3 separate regions of the Homo sapiens genome follow, and all the other regions are linked to region 2. Evidence: promoter capture Hi-C in 16 types of primary human blood cells and fetal thymus (Javierre and others, 2016). All regions are on one chromosome and are shown on one strand. Each heading gives the region's core, a stretch centred on a gene start or on the middle of the fragment in contact. The rest is flanking DNA. Distances are from core to core; before and after follow the strand shown.

What was found. The method cuts DNA at HindIII sites, captures the fragments that hold promoters and counts their contacts. A CHiCAGO score of 5 or more calls a contact.
Region 1: a fragment that was not itself captured here is called in contact with the fragment with the promoter of LRRC57 in region 2 in 3 of 17 cell types (endothelial precursors, megakaryocytes and total CD8 T cells); the score reaches 12.5 in endothelial precursors.
Region 3: a contact is called between a fragment that was not itself captured here and the fragment with the promoter of LRRC57 in region 2, in 2 of 17 cell types (endothelial precursors and megakaryocytes). The highest score is 7.5, in endothelial precursors.

The regions. Positions count from the first base shown.
Region 1 is chr15:42,647,457-42,650,991 of GRCh38, reverse strand. The region is part of intron 7 of STARD9 (StAR related lipid transfer domain containing 9); the gene reads right to left. Among named protein-coding and RNA genes, the nearest start is that of STARD9, 74 kb to the right of the region's middle. The HindIII fragment of the contact is 4,992 bases long and covers 1-3,535 here.
Region 2 is chr15:42,547,195-42,551,017 of GRCh38, reverse strand. LRRC57 (leucine rich repeat containing 57) reads left to right here and starts at 2,225. Exons shown (of 6, transcript NM_153260.3): 1 at 2,225-2,325; 2 at 2,562-2,667; 3 at 2,774-2,912; 4 at 3,489-3,757. The coding sequence starts at 2,584. HAUS2 (HAUS augmin like complex subunit 2) reads right to left here and starts at 2,180. Exons shown (of 6, transcript NM_018097.3): 1 at 2,053-2,180. The coding sequence starts at 2,145. RefSeq lists an enhancer at 1,920-2,389. The HindIII fragment of the contact is 3,855 bases long and covers 468-3,823 here.
Region 3 is chr15:42,668,106-42,671,891 of GRCh38, reverse strand. It overlaps STARD9 (StAR related lipid transfer domain containing 9), which reads right to left. Exons shown (of 33, transcript NM_020759.3): 16 at 2,555-2,734. Among named protein-coding and RNA genes, the nearest start is that of CDAN1, 67 kb to the left of the region's middle. The HindIII fragment of the contact is 1,545 bases long and covers 1,645-3,189 here.

The DNA.
Region 1 (3,535 bases), core at 128-2,627, 100 kb before region 2:
AAGAAATTAAATGAGATTTTTGGTAAACTTTAACCTTTTCTTGTAAGTCTTTATCATTCCTATTTCATATTGTTTAATAGACAAAAATGAGGGAATCTGGCCAAATTCATTCAGATAATAAATTAAATCAAGAAATATTTATTGGAAACCTCTTGTCAGGTATATGATAGACTCTAGGAATATAGGTCTCTGTCCTCACAGAGATTATGGTCTATAAGTCATATAGACCATATGCTAACAACAACTATAATTCCTTACAGTTCTGCTATATAGGTTATAAGAACTGTTCTCATTTGGCCCTCACAAAGTCCCTGAGGTAGGCCAGTGTTGTTTTCCCCACAAGGTGGCAGACTCGGTTTGGCATACAAAATACACAGTACACTCATCTCTGTCCTCCCACAGTTTACAATCATGGTAAGTTACACTACACAAGACAATATGGCCAAGTGCCACAGGAGTTGGAAAGATGATACATGATGAGGAGATCAGAGGCGTGGTCAGGACAGGTTCCACAGAAGAAGTGAGACTTAAATTTAGCCACTATAGAATGGGGAGGCTTTAGATAGGTGAAGAGGAGCCTACGGGCATGAAAGTAAATCTTCATGGCTGGTTACTGACCAAGTCCCAAAGGCCTTCCCAACTGTTCCAGAGAATCTCTGTATGAGAGATTCAAAAACAAAGTAACTTCATGGGCTTATTGCTAAATACAATTACACCCAAAATAACAAAGTAACATAAATGAAACCAACAAAAATAATAGTCAATAGAAAGCAATCCAAGAAAGACCCAGATACTGAAGCTACCAGGCCGACTTAAAAGTAACCCTGAAGGCTGGGCACTGTGGTTCATGCCTGTAATCCCAGCACTTTGGGAGGCCGAGGCGGGCGGGCCTGAGGTCAGGAGTTTGAGACTAGCCTGGCGAACATGGAGAAACCCTGTCTCTGCTAAAAATGCAAAATTAGCTGGGTGTGTTGGTGCATGCCTGTAATCCCAGCTACTCGGGAGGCTGAGACAGGAGAATCCCTTGAACCTGGGAGGCGGAGGTTGTGGAGAGTCGAGATCGCGCCATTGCACTCCAGCCTCGGCAACAAGAGCGAAACTCCATCTCAAAAAAAAAAAAAAAAAAAAAGGCCAGGCTCGGTGCCTCATGCCTGTAATCCCAGTACTACTTTGGGAGCCCAAGGCAGGTAGATCATGAGGTCAGGAGTTCCAAGACCAGCCTGGCCAAGATGGTGAAACCCCACCTCGACTAAAAATACAAAAAATTAGCTGGACATGGTAGCGGGAGCCTATAGTCCAAGCTACTCAGGAGGCTGGGGCAGGAGAATCACTTGGACCTAGGAGGCAGAGGTTGCAGTGAGCTAAGATCTCACCATTGCACCCCAGCCTGGGCGATAAGAGCAAAACTTCGTTTCAAAAAAAAAAAAAAGTAACTCTGCTTAATATTTTCAAGGAGTTTAAAGACAAGATTGTAAACTTGGAAACTATAATGAAATAATAAAATGGATATCTGAGAAATAATACTGTAAGTGAAAATAAAAACTCAATATAAAGTTTAATAGCAGGTTAGACATAGCTGAAGAAAGAATGAGTGAGCAGGAAGATAGATCAGAAACATACTCAAAATTTAGCACAGAGAGACAAAAGATTAAAAATATGGAGGGAGCCGGGTGCAGTGGCTCACGCCTGTAATCCCAACACTTTGGGAGGCTGAGGCGGGTGGATCATGAGGTCAGGAGTTCAAGACCAGCCTGACCAACGTGGTAAAACCCCGTCTCTCATGAAAATACAAAAATCAGCCGGCTGTGGTGGTGCGCGACTGTAATCCCAGCTACTCGGGAGGCTAAGGCAAGAGAATCGCTTGAACCCAGGAGGTGGAGGTTGCAGTGAGCTGAGATTGCGCCATTGCACTCCAGCCTGGGCAACACAGCGAGGCTCCATCTCAAAGAAAAAAAAATGGAGGCTAGGTGTGCACACCTGTAATCTCAGCTACTTGGGAGGCTGAGGCAGGAGGATCCCTTGAGCCCAGGAGTCCAAAACCAGTCTGGGCAACATTAGCAAGACTTCATGTCTAATAAATAAATTAATTAATTAAATATAGAAGAAATGGTAAGACTCACAGAGTATACAGGCAATAGGCCTTAACATACCTGTAATTAGAGTCCCAAAAGAAGAGGAAAGAATGGGATAGAAGGATTATTATAAGAGGTAATGGTAGTGGAGGGAAGGGGGGAAAAAAGGGAAAGGTAATGGCTAAGAACTTTCCAAAACTGATAAGAAGATACAAAAGCACAATTCAAGAATCCCAGCATGATTTTTTAAAAACCTAAATCTACCCATAAGTAGACCATAATAAACTGTTCAAAGACAAAAGTAAAAATATTGAAAAAATTAGACTAGGAGATGACTTCTCAGCAAAAACAGTGGAAAGCAGAAGAGAATGGTATAATTTTTAATGACTAAAAGAAAATAACCATCAATTTAAAATTCTGTACTCAGTGAACTTTACCTTCAAGAACAAGAAAAGCAGGCTGGGTATGGGGGCTCATGCCTGTAATCCCAGCACTTTGGGAGGCCGAGGCCAGTGGATTACTTTCGGTCAGGAGTTCAAGATCAGCCTGGCCAACATGGTGAAACCCCATCTCTACTAAGAGTACAAAAATTAGCTGGGCACGGTAGCATGTGCCTGTAATCCCAGCTACTCGGGAAGCTGAGGCAGGAGAATTGCTCAAACCCAGGAGGCGGAGGTTGCAGTGAGCCGAGATCGCGCCACTGCACTCTAACCTGGGTGACAGAGCAAGACTCCATCTCAAACAAACAAACAAAAAGCCAAAAGAGAACTTGTCAATAGCAGATCCACACTAGAGGGAAAACAAGATTATTCTTGAAGTAGAAGGCACTCAGAGATAAAAGGTAGGATATTCTTTAAAAATTAAGAGCCCTAAAAATGGCATTTAAGTCAAGAAGGGACAAACTGAGTTCAAGTCTTATAAGGTCCAAAAGGTTTATTGTCTGGGAAGAAGCAGAACAACCAGTAAATATTAGACTTTGATAAATCAATGGTCTATGTTGTAATCTCTGGAGTAACCACCAAAATAGTAAGACAATGTGTAAATAATAAGCTAGTGGAGAAGGAATATGGAATAATTTTTTAAAGTTATCAAACCAAAAGACAAAGTAACGAAAAAGGAACATAAAACAGGAAAAGTAAAGAGAAAACACAAAATAACAGATTTAAACCCAAATAAAATCAGTGATTACATTAAATACAAGCAGACCACAATACCAAATTAAAAGACCAAAACTGTGATGAAACAAAGGTAAAACAAAGCAAAAGGAAAATTTTTTAAAATAAAAAACACATCTGAAACATACATAGAAAACTGAAAGTAAAAGTAGAAAAGAAGATAAAAATACAAACAATAACACAAAGAAAGCTAGTTTCGTTAATGCCTGACAAAGTAGACTTTAAAGTAAAAGCATTATTAGAGATAAAGAAAAATCCTTCACAATGAAAAAAGTGTTCAATGAACCA
Region 2 (3,823 bases), core at 976-3,475:
TCTCAGAAAAAAAAAAAAAAGAAAAGAAAAGAAAAAGAAAATACAGGAGAGGGCCGGGTGCAGTGGCTCACGCCTGTAATCCCAGCACTTTGGGAGGCAGAGGCAGGCAGATCACGAGGTCAGGAGATCGAGACCATCCTGGCTAACATGGTGAAACCCCATTTCTACTAAAAATACAAAAATTAGCCGGGTGAGGTGGTGAGCACCTGTAGTCCCAGCTACTCATGAGGCTGAGGCAGGAGAATGGCATGAACCCAGGAGGTGGAGCTTGCAGTGAGCCAAGACTGTGCCACTGCACTCCAGCCTGGGCAACAGAGCGAGACTCCGTCTCAAAAAAAAAAGAAAACACAGGAGAGAAGGGAGGAAGGATTACACTGTAGAGTGCTGTGGTCACTCCTGGTAAAGTTAGTCAACTAGGACCACCTGAATCTCCCCATCACCCAGACAATGGGTGTTCAACAAAAGCTTAAAATCTTTTAATACAGTATCACAGCCTCTTATAACAGTTCATCTTGAGAGGGGATACAATGTGTCAAAAGGGAGAGTACTAAGATCTAATTCTCCTTTAACAGTCTAGTGACCATGGGCAAGTTTCTTGGTCTAAGCCTTAGTTTCTTAAATTAAAAAATACTGTAAGGTATTAGAGTCTCTAATGGCTCTTCTGACTATAAAAAGTTATGTATTTTCCGTAAATCTTCCATCATGTTTGTAGTGCTTTTTTTTTTTTTTTTTTCCCTGAGACAGGGTCTCACTCTGTCGCCCAGGCTAAGTGCAGTGGCCCGATCGCATCTCACTGCAACCTCCATCTCTTAAGCTCAAGCCATCTTCCCATCTGAGCCTCCAGGACCCATGTGGTCCGCGGAGTAGTTGGGACTACAGGTGTACGCCACCATGCCGGCTAATATGTGCTGATTTTTACAGATCAGTTTAACTTTTCTGTTTTCTTTTTAGTGAAATTTCTCAACTTCCTCTATATATCAAAATTTATTTCCCCATTTTTCTCAATGCCCTTGATCCCACTTGCCCCATGCCCTCCTGTCACTGCATTCCATTATTTCCTCACATGTTCAATTTCTCCCTCTGTTGGCTCCTTCCTCCGACATGCTCCTCTTGCCCAACCTAAAACTGCCACTCCGTGACTCCTTGGGTTAATGTCTCTTTTCTCTCCTTCTCAAAATTAATCTCTTCCTCCATTCACGTTCCAAGGTCTTATCTTTTTAGCCAATACTTTTTTTTTTTTTTTTTTTTTTTTGCCTTTAAAGATGCCAAGGCCGGGCGCGGTGGCTCACGCCTGTAATCCCAGCACTTTGGGAGGCCGAGGCGGGTGGATCACGAGGTCAGGAGATCGGGACCATCCTGGCTTACAAGGTGAAACCCCGTCTCTACTAAACATACAAAAAAAAATTAGCTGGGTGTGGTGGTGGGCGCCTGTAGTCCCAGCTACTCCAGAGGCTGAGGCAGGAGAATCGCTTGAACCAGGAAGGCGGAGGTTGCAGTGAGCCGAGACCACGCCACTGCACTCCAGCCTGGGCGTTAGAGCGAGACTCTGTCTCATATAAATAAATAAATAAATAATAAAATAAAATAAAAATGTCAAAAAAGAGCTTCTGGCGCTCTTCTCTACCCAGCACCTCCCGCCCCAAATACGATTCAACACTTCCCACAAACGAGGGTTGTTGGAAATGCTTGTTCCGCAAGGGGACAGAACGACCCGTATTTCCCATCCCCGCCCTTACACTACAGTCTAGAGGCAGTATCACTGGATGAAAAAAAGGCTGGTAACAGTCTAATCTCCCACAAACTGGACTGGGACAAATTTACCCTACAGACACTCAAAACACAGTCTACCCTAAACACCATCTACTCAGATCCCCGCTTTCCAAGCATCCACGGCAGAACGTTCGCGGCTGTTGCCTGGAAGGGGCTCTTATTACTCTAGTACAGACCCCAACCAGGACCCTCACCACTCCCACAGCCAGCAGCACCAACTCACAGCCATATTGTTGCCACCTTGGGCACCCCCTTGATGACACCACCGCCACCCCCACGTACCTGATTGACCATCCCCGAAGCTATGAAGTGGCCTAGCACTAGCCCAGCGCCGTTAGGCGCGGACGCCGGGTCCCACGGGTTGGCAGCGGCCATGGCTCGGACGCACCTTCCGCGAAGGCGCCAAGAGTGAGCGGGATCGCAGGGCGAACGCACGGCGCGGCTCGATGACGTCACAGGGCGTTCCCGCCCGGGACTAAGCCGGGGAGCGCATCCCGGCTACTGCGGGTCCTGGGTCTTCACCTGCGGAGCCTTACGGCAGCTGAGCGGTGGGAGGCGAGTCCGGGGCTCCCTGATCTTCCGTAGGCTCCCAGAGGCGCCTGGCCTCCGCAGAGCTGCAAAGGCGGCAGGGCTTGGTGGTCGGGCTGTGTGTTCTTCCGTTTCTTCCTTGTCGCTCTTGGGTCGGGCCCCAGGAGCCAGGGATCGGCGGGAGTTGAGAGCTGGGGCAGGAGCCCCAGCCGGGAGGCCGACCGGGTGGACTGGGCGGTGACAGCAGCGCTTCCTTCCCGCAGGGACCTGAGCCGCGGCGCTAGGATGGGAAACAGTGCGCTCCGCGCTCATGTGGAAACGGCGCAGAAAACTGGTGTCTTTCAGCTTAAGGACCGAGGGCTGACCGAGGTGAGACTGGGAGGGACACGACCAGGGAACTTAAAGGGAGAGGGACGGCGGGGGCGGCGAACTTAGTCGGTGCGGGATTCCCCACGCTGTGAACTCCTTTCTCCAGTTCCCCGCAGACTTGCAGAAGCTGACGAGCAATCTCAGGACCATCGACTTGTCCAACAACAAGATCGAAAGCCTACCGCCTTTGCTGATAGGAAAGTTCACTCTGCTGAAGAGCCTCTCCCTGAACAACAACAAACTGAGTATGGCTCTCGCCAGGGAGGCTTTTGCTAGTGATCAGCTGTTACCAGGGGTGGTTTTCTCTTACAAGCTGATTTTTGTTTTTGTTATGAAACCGTGCAGGAGGGCTCAAGTTGCGAATGCCGGAATCCTTGAAGCCTTCTTTCTACTTCTTGTAATTACATCTAAAATAAGCCTTATAATGATTGGGTGTTATAATGATTGTTACTGGGTTAATTTGGACTTGAAAGAGAAGAACATTTTGGGGATGTAATGTAAACAAAGCTACCTAACTTGGAATGGGGGATGGATGAGAAGGGGAGGATCTTCCAAATATCACAAAATTGCTGTCGGATTGTGCCTTGGGCCCCTTTACAAAAGGAGCCCATTATACACACAAATGCTCTCCGGCATTTTGATGGCACCCTCACCTTCTAAAGACTATGTTGGTAAAATGCAATATCTAAAAATGGCACATGTGGGAGTTTTACATATATTAACAAGAGGCGAAGCAGGCTGCCATATAGTCTTTATAAACTTCATCAAAGTTGTTTTCAGCTCTATCACATTCAGGTTTTAAAAAAATTTTTCTTTGCCAGCTGTTCTGCCTGATGAGATATGCAATCTGAAAAAACTAGAGACGCTAAGCCTAAACAACAATCACCTTAGAGAGCTGCCGTCTACCTTTGGGCAACTCTCTGCCCTCAAGACCCTGAGCCTCTCTGGGAACCAACTGGGAGCATTACCTCCCCAACTTTGTAGCCTACGGCACCTGGATGTGATGGATCTCTCTAAGAACCAGATTCGAAGTATACCTGACTCAGTGGGAGAGCTGCAAGTCATCGAACTCAACCTCAACCAGAATCAGGTCTAGAGCTTTAAGGTTTTTTTTCCTACAGCATATGTGTGGCTTTAAGGTCTCCTGATACCTGTT
Region 3 (3,786 bases), core at 1,168-3,667, 120 kb before region 2:
GATGGGTGGATCACTTGAGGTTAGGAATTCAAGACCAGCCTGGCCAACATGGTGAATCCCCGTCTCTACTAAAAACACAAAAATTAGCCGGGCATGGTGGTTGTGGGATATGATGAAGTTTCTCTTCAAATAGCCTGATCAATCCTTTATTCTTCAATTCATAGTAACCCCCCACCCCTTTTTTTCCTTTTTCTCTTTTTTCTTCCTTTCTGCCTTTATTACATGCCCAGACATGCCACAGTACCAGCGTTATCAGTACCAGCTCACATTCCTTTCCTTATTTAAAAAAAAACTAGCTCTCTAGCTCATTGCAGACACCCCTTCCCCCCTCTCCCTTATGTGCCCACCTTATCCAAAAAGGTTCAGATGTTTAGCCAACCAGGATTAGTTTAGAATGTACGACCCAACCCCAGCCAATGGGGAAGGAGAAAGGGTACAGGAGCAGGACTTGTGTCAGAAATAAAGGCTCTCATGCCCCTTTGTTCAGATGTGTTCTCATGGCAACTGGCCAAGGAGAAGCACCCCTCTGCACAAAAGTAAAATTGCTTTACTAAAAATCCTTTAAGTGTTCAATTTCCTTAAAATTTTAAGCATTATTCCCAACAGTGGTGCATGCCTGTAATCCCAGCTATGCAGGAGGCTTAGGCAGGAGAATCACTTGAGCCCAGGAGGTTGAGGTTGCAGTGAGCTAAGATCGCGCCACTGCACTCCAGCCTGGGTGACACAGCAAGACTCCGTCTCAAAAAAAAAAAAAAAAAAAAAAAATCAGCAATCCTATCTTCAGATGAGTTCATCATTCATCTCCATGTCTACGATTCAATCTAATAGTCATGTCCTTTAACCCTCTGCTGCGACCCTAAGCTCTACTACTTGATTTCTAGCTTCATCTATTCACTCTACATCCAATCCATATATCAGATCAGTTCTACTCAAATAGTGACCATTTTAATCAATCTGGTCTCTTCCTGACCTCCAACCTCTCTCTGTGCTTCTGACTAATGGGAGGATCTATACAGCCATTTGGTGTTTAGTTTTCTTGCTAAGGTAAAAGTTGCCAGCCACTTCTGCCTCAGGCACTTTCACTAAGAAAATTTATACCCTGTATACCAGAAAATAAGCTACTTTAAATTTTCTGTCTGAGCAGCTCAGTCTCTGACAACTTCCCAAAGGGCTTATCCTAAGAACACCGATGAGCTTTGCTAACATCTCACTTCCATATGCCCTGCAGCACTAAGAAGGAGTCCAATTTCTCCAGGGATAACAGCAGCATTACATACTCCCCAGAAACTCTTTGTTCTTTTTAAACGTCAGCTGGGGATAATTATGAGAATGAAAACTAGATTTTCAGTGAGCACAGGGATTTTGAGCATGGGAAGTACGTTCTGCTGTCAAAAGGAACTGTCCTCCCACAGTAGAACACATTGATGAGAACAAGATAAAAGACTCTATCTACCATAGGTCACTAACTCTCAAAACCACTTCAATCAGAAATGAGGACTGGCCTCCAGGTGACACAGAGCCAGGTGGGCCAGGTGCTGTTTGGAAGCTTTAACTTTAATCTTTTTCTAGATGGATGCCTGTCATCCCCTCTTCCCCCACCATCACACTACTCTAGCTCTTTGGACCCTCCCTATGTTTTAAGCTTCCTTTACCTACTTTCTCTGTCTCCTTTTCCAGGTAAATGTAGTGATGGAGAAGTGGGAAGTGTACTGTTTATTTGGGGTTGAATGAAGTGGGGAAGTGTCAGAAGAAAACTTTCAAATCTTCTGAATTCCCTTTAGTCTCTGAAAGCCACCTTTTTTTAAAAACATTATTTTTATTTATTTTATTTATTTATTTTTGAGACAGAGTCTTACTTTGTCACCCAGGCTGGAGCGCAGTGGCGTGATCTCAGCTCACTGCAACCTCCACCTCCTGGGTTCAAGTGATTCTCCTGCCTCAGCCTCCCAAGTAGCTGGGATTACAGGCTCCCACCACCACGCCCGGCTAACTTTTGTATTTTTAGTAGAGGTGGGGTTTCACCATGTTGGCCAGGATGGTCTTGAACTCCTGACCTCAAGTGATCTGCCCGCCTCAGCCTCCCAAAGTGCTGAGATTACAGGTGTGAGCCACCGCGCCCAACCTGAAAGCCACCTTTGAGCAGTCTGTATTTGTAGAGTTTAGGAGCACTAATGGTTATCTTGAGGTTAGGGTTTCACTCTCCATGACTATACCCCTATGCTTCACTAAGCCAGAAAAGGAATATGATAAGCATCATTCTTACTTTAAAATGAGGAAATTAAGGCAAAGAGAACAAAAGTAAGTTACATAAGAACAACAGTAGCAGCAGTTGAAAAACAATTGTTCTGATTTCCAGTCTTCTGCTCTATACATACGAAGGCAAAACAGATCACAATTTGTCAGGTAGACGTTTCCTGAGAGCAAACCTGAAGGCAGCTCTGTAGCATCTGTCTTGATTTCAATTCACAGTAACATGGCTGCTGCTCCTAGCTTTTCCCTCCTTGACCTCTGGAACCAGTGGCTTAGGAAGAAAAGGATACACTAGCCTCCTCACCTTGAGATGATAGAGCACAACACCTGTGCTGAGCACATCATCCTCCAAGGCCATCAAGTGTGGCAGGCTGGAGTCGATGACCACCCCAGCCCTCCTCCTGTTGATGTCCACACTGTAATGCTCCATGAGGGCCTGCCAATCATTCCACTTCTGGGTCCAGTCTTTAGTCAGCTGGTCTATCTGCAGAGGTATAGGAGGTGATCTGAGACACTCAGCATGGGGAACAGACTAAAGGTCAGAAGTCATTACAATCTATTCCTATTTCCCCAGGGTACTGCTTTCTTATGATCCTCCCAGATACTATTCAAAGCCCCACAGAAGCCCTTGTACCTCCTCCAACTGCAAGCTGTGTTTTCCAAGTTTTCTTCAATAAGCAAGTGTTACTTGTATAAACAGAAGCCCCCTCAATAAATGTTATTTTTAAAGTTTTCTGCAATGAACATGTATTGTTTTTATAATTAGAAAAAAACATGTTATTTTCAAGTTATTCTTTAAAAATTAATTGGGATGTTAGACATCTATGTTTATAATTTCCCTTTCCCCACCCCAGTTTTACATGATCCATACTTGGGAACCCTTTTATGACCTACACACTTCTTTCCCAAAGTACAGTACTTTGAGTTATAATATAAGCTTGCACACGGCTCACAGAACCACAAAGCACTGAGAGGAATCTCCCCAGGTGGAACTAAGACTATATGGAACTTGTCTGGAAGATCATGTAATAAGACAATAAAAACAATAATAACAGTAGAATACTGAGTTCTTACTGTGTACCAGGAACAGAGTTTTTAAAAGTAAATGTACCCAGCCTTAGAGGCCTTAAGCTAAGACCACTTTAGGGACATGCACAGTGATAAATGTAGGGTACTTTTTCTTCTTTTAGTGGAAACCGATGCCTAAGCATTGAGCTTATCCTGGGAATGGAAGAACTGAGGAAGCTCAGAAAAAAAAAAAAAAATTAGATTTAGCTAAGTGCTTCTCTCATAAAGGGAATAGTTAAAAAAAATTATGCCAGGTTTAGGTACAAGTGCTTTATGTACCCTAGAAACATTATTTTAATAATCATTGAGTTGAAGTTTGGAAACCAGGAAACTACAGGGTACCTGTAAAGGGCTGGGTTGGATAGGGACCCCTGGCATTGGTGAGTGGCAGGACACTCTGGCTTACAGTTCAGCCAACCTGGCACAGCTGCCCCTCTGGCCAGCTTTCACCACCTACTCCTACACTGC